Regions from separate parts of the Homo sapiens genome. Here region 2 is linked to region 1. The links are contacts of gene promoters, found by promoter capture Hi-C in blood cells and fetal thymus (Javierre and others, 2016). All regions are on one chromosome and are shown on one strand. Each heading gives the region's core, a stretch centred on a gene start or on the middle of the fragment in contact. The rest is flanking DNA. Distances are from core to core; before and after follow the strand shown.

Region 1 (4,704 bases), core at 1,247-3,746:
CAGCCTCCACCATACTGATGTTGAGGACTGGCCTACAGTGATTGAAAAAGCAAGGCTACAAATAGTGTTCCCCATCCCTCCATTATCACTCCAACTCCTGGTGGAGAGTGGATAATTATACTGGAAGACAGAAACAACACTTTTTTTTTTTTTTTTTTTTTGAGACAGAGTCTCTCTCTGTCACCCAGGCTGGAGTGCAGTGGCGCGATCTCAGCTCACTGCAACCTCTGCCTCCCAGGTTCAAGTGATTCTCCTGCCTCAGCCTCCGGAGTAGCTGGGATTACAGGTGCACACCACCACGCCTGGCTAATTTTTGTATTTTTAGTAGAGACGGGGTTTCACCATGTTGGCCCGGCTGGTCTCGAACTCCTGAGAGCATGATCTGTCCACCTCGGCAGCCTCCCAAAGTGCTGGGATTACAGGTGTGAGCCACTGCACCTGGCCGAAACAACACATTTCTTTCTTTTTTTTTTTTTTTTTTCTGAGACAGAATCTTGCTCTGTCACCCAGGCTGGAGTGCAGTGGCACAATCTCGGCTTACAACCTCCATCTCCTGGGTTCAAGTGATTCTCCTGCCTCAGCCTCCTGAATAGCTGGGATTATAGGTGCCCACCACCACGCCCAGCTAATTTTTGTATTTTCAGTAGAGATGGGGTTTTACCATATTGGCCAGGCTGGTCTGGAACTCCTGACCTCAGGTGATCCGCCTGCCTCGGCCTCCCAAAGTGCTTGGATTACAGGCATGAGCCACCGCACCCAGCCAACAACACATCTCTAAATGGATCATTAAAGCTATTATGACCTGCCATGATGGCAGCTTCATGGGAATCAGGAAGGGCCATGTATTGGCCCCACCATCAAAAAATACAGTGTCATGGACACTGATGCTTCTTCCAGTTTCTCAGCCACATGTTGTCCATCAAGACATTTCTGTTTTCAAACCTAGGAAGAGGAAATCTGAAGCCCACTACCACTGGAAGAATATCCCTGACCACAAAGACTAGACTTGGCATTTGGGCCCCATTCTACTGACAGGACTCTTGTTTTGGGGTATCCAGATTTATATAATCTGTTAGAAACCCTAAAGCCCAAGTGGATCCTCTTCAAGCATTCTCTATTTTATTCATCAAGCCTTCCTGCAGAACAACACTGTTGCTAAAATGTTGCTATGACAACTCCAAATCAACTAAGCCTGAGCAAGAAGGGGTAAAAAAAAAAAAAACAGGGTTCTGAAGAAGAGACAAAGGGGGAAGAATCCACCTACAAGCTCTGCCTTAGGACCCTGACACCCAGCCAGAGGGCAGGAAAAACAAAGAGCTGGGCAGACATGCCTCCAGAAAGAAACAGCTACACAGTACAAAGCAATAAGATAATCCCAACACAAAAGGGGCAAGATTTTTGGAAATTCTCTACCCATAAGGTCCTCCAAACCTTTCCTATCCAAGGAAAATTTTCAATGGATAAGCCTCGGAAAGACCGCGTCCGAGGAAAATGTTGAAAAAGGAACTGAAAGTGAAACCGTACAGACGAAGTAACGCTGCAAGGAGATCCCAGTCGATAAGGGGAAGTAGCACTAGTGTTTTGGGACCACCTACATTTCCATCTTCAAACCTGAAGAGGAAATGCCCTGCGAAGCTTGCCGCGCTGACTGCAGGGGAAGGCAATGAAATAGAGGGCCCGGCACAGGAGGCATCTCTATTGGCCACAGCTGTCAGCCGGGGCAGTCTCTGAGGACACCCAGCAACGGGGTCAGGGTACTTATTCAAATCTTAGTTGGACATCCGGAAGCATTTCCTAGGCATTAGGGATCGGTGACACGGAAACAGGGATGGGACGTTGTGGTGTGCACGCTCAGGCCAGAAGGGCCCAGTAAGAGCCCTTGCTAAGTCTGGACACAAAGGGAAAAAAAATCAACTCCCGAAAGAAGTCAGGCACCTAGACCTTGCCTTAGAATGAGGCGTCTCCCTGCAGGCTCACCAACCAGAAGGCGCTTACGGAGCTGAGCGCCCGCCAGGCGCGAGCCCGGGAGCCTGCGCCGTGACCCCGCAGCCCCGCAGTCTTAGCCCCGCGCCCCAGCTGCTCCGCGGAGGAGGCAGGAAAGGGCCTCGGGGACTAGGGAGCTCAAGCGCCCGGTGCCGGCGGCTGCGGCGCGCAGCTGGACAGCGCAGGAGGGCTGGGACGCTCGCGCTCTGGGGAAGGGAGAGAGTTTGGCCCACAAAGCAGGGTATGAGATAAAGAACCAGCACAGCCCCCTCCCCCAAAACAAAGGCTTCCTCCCCAGCAGTGTTCTCTAACTTGAAAAACGGAAACAAAATCAAAGCTGCCCTGCCTTGCCAGTCCACCCAGTTTCCAGACTTCTGCCCGGTCCTACACTCACCGGCCAAGGCCGTCTCAGCTGCCGATTTTCTCCAACTGTGTTCTCCCTCTCCCGGCCTAGGTATCTCCATAGACAGCTGCTCATGCGCACTTCCAGCCCGCGGCCATGTTGGTGAGGGGCGGAAGTGTCGCTCTCGCCCCGCCCATAAACTCAAACTCAGAACTGCCCCACTTCCGCTCACTCCATCTTGATGAGAGTTGGTGTTTGTGGGTTATTTGTGAAGCCGGAAAGAAGCCGTGTCCTGGAGAATGTAGCTGAAGGCCTGGCCACTTTCGACAAGAACGGGAAAGAGACGACTAACTTGTACTAATATCTTAGTGCTTGGCAGGGCATTTTTTCATTCCAGGAAAGAAGAGAATCCAGCTGAGATCAAGGGAGGGACGTCCGACGGAGGCGCCATCTTTAACAAGGGCTATTTGGGAGGCCATCTTGGCGCAGGGCGTCTTTTTGAAAGGTTACCTGCTAGAGATTACGACCTATCGGGGCATGCATAGAATTGGATATGTTCCTTGTTATTCGCGTCAGCAGTCACTCATCCAAAGACCCCAAAGCTTCTAGTGTTCTAAAGGCTCACACCTTCTGTGACAGGAATCTTGATTCCCATTCTTCTCAATCAAGACCTACCCTGAATGGATTTGGAGTAGTGTGGTATAATGGGAAAAATTCAAGCTTGGGGGCCAGGCAGATCCAGGTTTCAAACCCATCTCTGCCACTTCTTACCTCTGAGACCTTTGGCAAACATTTTGACTTAATTGAGCCTTAGTTTCCTCATCTATAAACTGGAGATACTAGCACCAACCTTCCAGAATTGTGTGGATTAAATAAAATCAAGGACATAGATTTTGTGAGCACAGGATACTTAGTCCAGTTCCTGGCACATAATGAACGCATTATGTAAATATAAGTTTCTCTTCCTTATTTCCTGACCACCATGAACCTAGCTCTAGTTTCTGGCCACTAGTCTCCATGACAACAACTGAGGAAGAGCACCCAAACAAGAAGAAGAAAAAGAATGTTTTGCCAAATATGTGAAGATATAATACCTATCACCAAAGACTTTAATAAGAATAATGAGACTCCACACTATGTGTAAAAATACAGCTTTTATTCTGAGACATTGACCTTCACTAGAGTGGGACCTGTGGCCCCAGCCTGGCTGGAGAAGCAGTCCCAGGGCCTGAGTGACACCATTTCCCTTTCCTGAAATAGGAACAAGTTATTCCAAAGGAGAAAGGAGAGCCCAGAGAGATCTGTACAGGACCTCTCTTGCACATGGTGACTGGAGGCAGAGGGTGGGGAGCTGGAGAGGAGTCCAGTCCCTCCAACAAATATTGAGGGCTTCAAAGAGCTCTTCCTGGACGTTTCTCTTAATCTGGATTTAAAAGGGACAGGAGGTATCTTAGGGTCCAAGAACATAACAGGAATGGGCAACTCTAGAAGTGTTTGTGTGTGGAAGGCCCTAACCTGGCCCTGTCCTCCCTGTCTCTACCTTTGGCTTTCATGAAGAGAGATTCACAGCTCAGAGGAAGGGAGGAATTTCTCCAGTCTTCACTTTAACAAACTCTTTTAAGTTTTCTGCCTACCTTATGTTCCCTTTGGCCAATGACCCACTCCCTGGGAACAAGATCTTGTTGACTTTCTTGGGAATCTCCTAAGAGATAAGTGCTTTGTGTCGGAGACAAGTTCAGGTAAACCAACCAAGGCAGTGCCTCCCACAGTCAAAGAGAGAAGCTGGAGGGCCAAAGCCTATAGAGTTGGGCACTACAGCTGCTCATGCTGCAGAGGAGACAGCTAGTCAGGAACCCTGGAGATTCAAGACAACTTGCTGGTCCCCTTTGCCCAGGGCTGTGGTCCTAATCACAGTCCTTCACCTTTCCCAGGGTTAGCCTGTGTTTCAAATGCATATGACCTGCGCTGAGAGGACAACAGGGGGTCAGGAACCTGGGGTTCTCTGGGGGGCAGACTAAGACGACTCCGGGATCCAGACCCTTCTGCACCTTCAGATGGGAGCTCCAGGCAGCTAAGGGGCCGAGGAGAATGGGCAGAGATCATGCTACAAGGGGAGGTTCTGGGGATGAGGCAGTAATCCCCACCCTCAGTACAGGTCTGGGTTCGCCGAACTCCTTGAGCCTCAGTCCTTTGGCGGTCCCGGGCTAGGGCCACAGCAGCATCAAAGGAAAGACTACCCCCATTCCTCCAAGAGGATCGAGAAGCTCGGGACCCCCAAGCCCTTTCTCCAGGAGTCCCATCAAGCCGGCCAGGCCTCGGGCATGGATTTGCAGGTGCCACATGAATCTTGCTACACATTGCACTGGGCATCTTGGCAA
Region 2 (5,996 bases), core at 1-2,500, 360 kb before region 1:
TACTTTGACTCTAATAACATCCTGAAAGGTAAGTAGAATTATTCTCATAATATGATGAAGAACCCAAGGCTCTCAAGGGAACACCACTCTTGGATTATTTAGCCCCGCTCTTCTACAAGAATTGCATACCCCAACCCCTGGAGCCCCTCCCCATATCCATGTTTCTGCCCTATAATCTGATCCTTTCACCAAAAATGTTTAGATCAGGTACACACACCTGAACTAAATTGGGACTATCAGTTTCTCTCTCTTTAAATTGCCCTGAGAATTGAAACTCAGAGGAGCAAAAGTCTAAGTTTTGAGAGATAACATGTGTAAAATGGCAGGAATCCAAATCCATAGGCACAGTCCACAGATTCCTGAAGCTAGGGGTTCTGGCCCGAACCTGGTTTTCAATCTTCTCCCCTTAAGCCCTTCCTAGCTCTTTTAAACTCTTTGAATTGCTTTAAATAGCCCTAGTTTCTTAAACTAAATTCTCCTTTTTTGGTAAAGGTACATTGAATTAGTTTCTGTTATTTGCTATCAAAAGAATCTTACCTAATATGGGCACAGAGATGTGAAGATCTTTTTTCAAGGCTGCACAGCTAGTGAGCAACTGACCAGTTTTGAACCCAAGTCTGTCTGGCTCCAGGTATAATGCCTGAGTCCTTATTCCATATACACTGGTTAGACTGGAGCTATGAGTGGAAGTTTTTTTGTCCTGCCCATTATGAAAGTTGAAAAATTCTCCTGATAACTCCTGCCCCATTCTTTATATTAATACATTCTCTTTTTTCTTAAGTCCAATGAAGCCTAATTTCGGAGATATAATCAAGATGAGCTGAGCTGATTTAGGTTGATCACAGGACAAAATGAAGGAAATAGGAAAAATCTCTAGTTTTCCTTCTCTTCAAAGCTTAGACTCACTAACTTCAGAAGAGGTGTTAAATGTCCTAAGATTGTTAATTTGGATATCTGTTGACCTAGGCTCACTCCCAAATAGAATTGGATCAAGGAAAAATGAATCAAACCTGTCCTGAGGTTTTTCTCTCCTCCTCCCCGAGAGTGCCCCATGCCTCCCAGGAAGCCCTACAGTGGTCCATCTGGGGCCACTGGAGTGGGGATTTGCTCTTTGGCTCCCCTGACTCACCAAGCACTTGCAGCTTGATCTTCCATTCTTGCTCATTCCCAGTCTTTTTCAACACCCTCATGATGTAGGTGCTGTTGTCCTCTTTCTGGACCTTAGAGATGTACAGTGCGCCACTCTGAGGATCAAGTCTGACCCTGCCTTTAAATTTGGATTCAAAGTACTTAGATTTTCTGGAATCCCATTCTACAATCTTCTGGTCGAAAGTATAAAACCAGGTTAGTTGTTTGTAGTTCTCAGGCAGGCTCTCAGAGATGTTCAGAGTCACGTTGCTGCCGGAGACCACGGTCATATGTACCAAGTGACCTGCCAATGAGATTCAGAGTGAGACCTGCGCTAGAGGAGGCAGTGTTGCTGACAGGCCCAGGGTATAGCCTGGGCTGGTGGAACAGGTGAGAAGGAAGGGATTTCTGCTTAGGAGCAGTGAGTATGGTTTTCACTGGAGGTCCAGGTCTCCTGCTTAGGAACTCAAGAAAAGTTGAAGCTTGAAAAGTGGGCATGGGGGAAGGGGATGCTGCTTATAATTAATCTAGTACTGTCCCCAGAAAATGAAAGAATTGAGTAAGGCCAACTGAGGTTGGGCCTGGCTCTCTCCCTTACTCTCATACCAGTAGACTTTCAAATAAACTGATGACAAGTCATATCTCTGCTCTGGTCTTGTGTTTCCTGTCTATTCTCATTTCAGTAAGCATGTTGTTAGTCCCTAGAGGCATAGACATAAAAAGTACATGATTCTGTTTAAAAATATTTAATATACCAATGTGGGAGGACAAACACACAAACAAATAATCCTAATATATTATCTTGATGACTATAATAAAGGTAACGTGGGGACCAAGGGAAAGCTTCCCCTTCACCTTCTGAAGGTTTGCCAAAAATCACTGACAAGAGGCAGATTAAGGAGGAAAGGCATACAGATCAATTTAACGTGTAAGCAGAGCCTTCCTAATGAAGAGCCAAAGATACAGGGCAAATTGTCCATTTTTATGCTTAGGTTCAACAAAGTATGGACAGTCATGGAGAAATATGATTGGACAAAAAGGGTATGATTGAATGCCAATAGACTGACTGCGGGAAACCCAGCAAGGCCTATCTTTCTAGATTCTGCTTGGCCTTTCTGTGCCAGATTCTTTCCTTCCTCCCGTGTGTGGGTCAGGCCCTCTCTAGAATGGGGGTCTTATGATTCACAATCAAACAAGATAGGTCAGATAATTTCTTTATAGCTATTTTTTTTTTACAGAGAAAGGCTCAAGGAAAGTTAGGGTGGTATATTTAAATTTTATGGCTGGCTTTGGGGAAAAGGGGTTTTGGCTTCTATGGCCCACCTTGGGAAAGAGGGATTCCAGTGTCTATGGCTAGCCTAGGGGAGAATGGGACTGATAGACAGGAGGGCAGGAGAAGGTCAGAGAAAAACTTTCACTTCTGAGGCTGCTTCTGAGGCCATCATTTTAGGGCATCATTTCCTGACTCCTGACAATAAACACAGTGTGCTATGGGAATATATTCCTATCCGGAGGGTAGGGATAGAAAATGGAGAAAATACTAAGAAAAATCTCTTTGGAGGAGATGACCACTAGGGTAAGCCAAAGGGTGATTAAAAGCTAATATTTGTTAAGAACTATCTGTCAGGCACTATTTGAGACACTTGGGATACATCAATGAACTAAGCAGCTATCGGGGAATCTGCCCTGATATTCACATAGGTTCTTTTCTATTTTTCCTAAGCATTGGCCAGCTTGAGAAATAAAGGGACAGAGTACAAAAGAGAGAAATTTTAAAGCTGAGCATCTGGGGGAGACATCACATGTCGGTAGGTTCCGTGATGCCCCACAAGCTACAAAAACCAGCAAGTTTTTATTAGAGATTTTCAAAAGGGGAGGGAGTGTGCAAATAGGTGTGGGTGACAGACATCAAGTACTTAACGGGGTATTAGAATACCATAAGGCAAGAGGAGGCAGGGCGAGATCACAGGACCACAGGACCGAGGTGAAATTAAAATTGCTAATGAAGTTTCGGGCACCATTGTCATTGATAACATCTTATCAGGAGACAGGGTTTTGAGATCAACCAGTCTGACCAAAATTTATTAGGCAGGAGTTTTCTCTTCCTAATAAGCCTGGGAGTGCTATGGGAGACTGGAGTCTATTTCACCTCTGCAGTTTCGACCATAAGAGACAGGAGCACCTGGGGGTGCTGTTTATAAGCCTATACCTCCAGGCGCGTATTCTCTTTCTCAGGGATGTTCCATGCTGAGAAAAAGAACTCAGCGATATTTCTCCCATTTGCTTTTGAAAGAAGAGAAATATGGCTCTGTTCTGCCTGGCTCACCGGTGGTCAGAGTTTAAGGTTATCTCTCTAGTTTCCTAAACATTGCTGTTATCTTGTTCTTTTTTCAAGGTGCCCAGATTTCATATTGTTTAAACACACGTGTTCTATAATTTGTGCAGTTAATGCAATTATCACATGGTCCTGAGGTGACATACATCCTCCTTGGCTGACAGGATTAAGAGATTAAAGTAAAGACAGGCATAGGAAATCACAAGGGTATTGACTGGGGAAGTGATAAGTGTCCATGAAATCTTTACAATTTATGTTTAGAGATTGCAGTAAAGACAGGCATAAGAAATTATGAAAGTATTAATTTGGGGAACTAATAAATGTCCATAAAATATTCACAATCCACGTTCTTCTGCCATGGCTTCAGCCGGTCCCTCCATTTGGGGTCCCTGACTTCCTGCAACATCTCTCCCTTTCTTTTTATATAAATGTGCCATGGCAATGAAGGCTTGTTCATTCTCTTGATTTTGACACAGGATTCTTTGAGTGGTCTGGGACACTAAAAACAAGCTGATTAAACACAGAAACATATTCCAAAATTTACTACAGTGGAGCCCCCAGTAGACTTAATCCAAGTAGTGGGGTTTAATCCATAAAGATTTTCTGCCACCTGATCTAATGCCTCAGCTCCAGGCATGATGGATAAGTGAGCTTGAGAGGCTTCAAAAATTTGTTTCTTTAATTTAGTTATGTCCAATGATAAATTATCTTCTCTACCTAGAAGGTGTCCTTTGACCATTTCCTATGAATGATCAGTCTCATTATAGGAATACGGGGTGATGCAGAAATCTGAAGTATTCCAATCGCACTGCATTTGCATGTGATGTTTGAGACTCACTACCTGATCTCCAAGCCAAATAACAGACTGTCTTAAATCATTAATTTGACTTGCCAATTTTTGATGGATGCCTTGTTGAGAATTCCACATTTGGGTGGAATTGGCTTGCCAATCATTAACAAAATGAGCCGTTTGAATAGATTGATGTAATGCCATTCCATCAGTGGTGGCCATTGCAGTGACTGTAATTAGGCCCGTGATAACAGCGATTAAAGTGAAAACAAATCTCTTAGATCTTTTTAGAATTTGCTGTAGCACTTCATTAATTAAATGTATTGGGGGGAGGATTCGCAAGGTCTAGGTAAAGTTACTGGAATCCAGATTCCTTCTCAAACTCGAACCAACATTACACTTTTCCTGGAGTCAAAATGGGAGTTAATACAAGTGTATAGATGACAATTAATGCATTGGAAAGTTTGATTATTTGTCCAAATTTTAATATTTCCTACTAACAGCATGTAAGGAGGCTTAACACAACTCTGTATGGGAATAGTCAGGTTGGAGGTAAGTAAAGCAGAATGTCTGGGTCTATGTTGATACTGAGAGAGTGGGACAGTAGTGGGAACAACAGTCAAAATAGTTTTCCCTTCCCATACTCGCAGTCCAGACATGGCAATAGCCAATTTCCAAAGTTCTGGGTGTTCTGGGCTCAGAATGGGGAGTATCATACGAGGCTTGGGGGGCGGGTAATGCCTTTATCTTCCCATTTTAAGGGAAAGAATGAGCTGATCCTCCTATGCAAAGTAGAATGATGATTCTCGTTCTCCTGATAAGAAATAAAATAATTAGCCTCCAGGAATTCCCTTCCACTAGAGGAGCAATTATTTTTTAAATAGCCCTTTGGTGCCCAGTCTATTACTAAACCATATGAGTCATTTTTTAATATTACTGCATGTGAGTTAACACAATCATCCTAAATTAAAGTTTTAGATGGGCCCTCAAAATTTTTAGGGCATGGTTTTCCTGCAGGTTTATATTGAAAGTATGGGGTATCTCCCATTACTTCTCCTTTCATTTGTTTTAAAGGAGAAAGGGAGAGGCCAGAGACTAAATGTCCTATTTTATCTGTAGCTGATGTTTTCGGAAGATAAGCAGCCTAGAATTGAGTTTCTAGGTGGATGCAACCAGGTGCATGTCCGAGGCACAGAGGGGGGTATTTATAATCTATGGTAACATTAAATGCAGTGCCTTCTTCTCCTGGTTGAGCAGGGCAACGGTCATCTGTGGCTCTAGGCATCTACACACTATCATTAGTGTAGATTTCTGCAGGAGCATCTATCTAGGTGAGAGGTCGAATAAGTGGAGGAAAAGGCACATAAGCCTAATAAGAATAATTATGTGTAGCAGGTAAATCAGTGTGAGAGGAAACTGGTGAGACAGAAAGTATAAGGAGGAGAATCATTAAATAAAACCTAGTGTAAGTGAGATTGAGTGCTGAAGGAGGAAGAGAAGAACAGAGGGATGTTATTTTCAGGCTAATAGAAATGGTGAGATTTTTAGGTTTGTAAGGAGAAAAAGAAAAGTAATCAGGAGAAGTGGGATTAGTTAGATGGGTCTCCACTGCCATCAGGGAGGATTGATTTACACCTATTGTGATTTGGTGTGCCTGTTTCTGAGGAGTCAGCAGAGATCTCACCACGTCTGAAGGCAATCTCTGACACAGATGTTTTTTGTCTGTGGTTTTAGTTGTCAGTA

What was found. The method cuts DNA at HindIII sites, captures the fragments that hold promoters and counts their contacts. A CHiCAGO score of 5 or more calls a contact.
Region 2: a contact is called between a fragment that was not itself captured here and the fragment with the promoter of USF1 in region 1, in 2 of 17 cell types (naive CD4 T cells and naive B cells). The highest score is 5.9, in naive CD4 T cells.

The regions. Positions count from the first base shown.
Region 1 is chr1:161,043,481-161,048,184 of GRCh38, forward strand. USF1 (upstream transcription factor 1) reads right to left here and starts at 2,497. Exons shown (of 11, transcript NM_007122.5): 1 at 2,378-2,497. ARHGAP30 (Rho GTPase activating protein 30) reads right to left here. Exons shown (of 12, transcript NM_001025598.2): 12 at 3,466-4,704. The coding sequence ends at 4,235. RefSeq lists enhancers at 1,297-1,526, 1,586-2,466, 2,065-3,264, 2,377-2,856, 2,467-3,347. The HindIII fragment of the contact is 1,293 bases long and covers 1,634-2,926 here.
Region 2 is chr1:160,683,758-160,689,753 of GRCh38, forward strand. It overlaps CD48 (CD48 molecule), which reads right to left. Exons shown (of 4, transcript NM_001778.4): 2 at 1,130-1,432. LOC124904439 (endogenous retrovirus group K member 18 Env polyprotein) reads left to right here. Exons shown (of 1, transcript XM_047438433.1): 1 at 1-5,996. Among named protein-coding and RNA genes, the nearest start is that of CD48, 25 kb to the right of the region's middle. The HindIII fragment of the contact is 715 bases long and covers 894-1,608 here.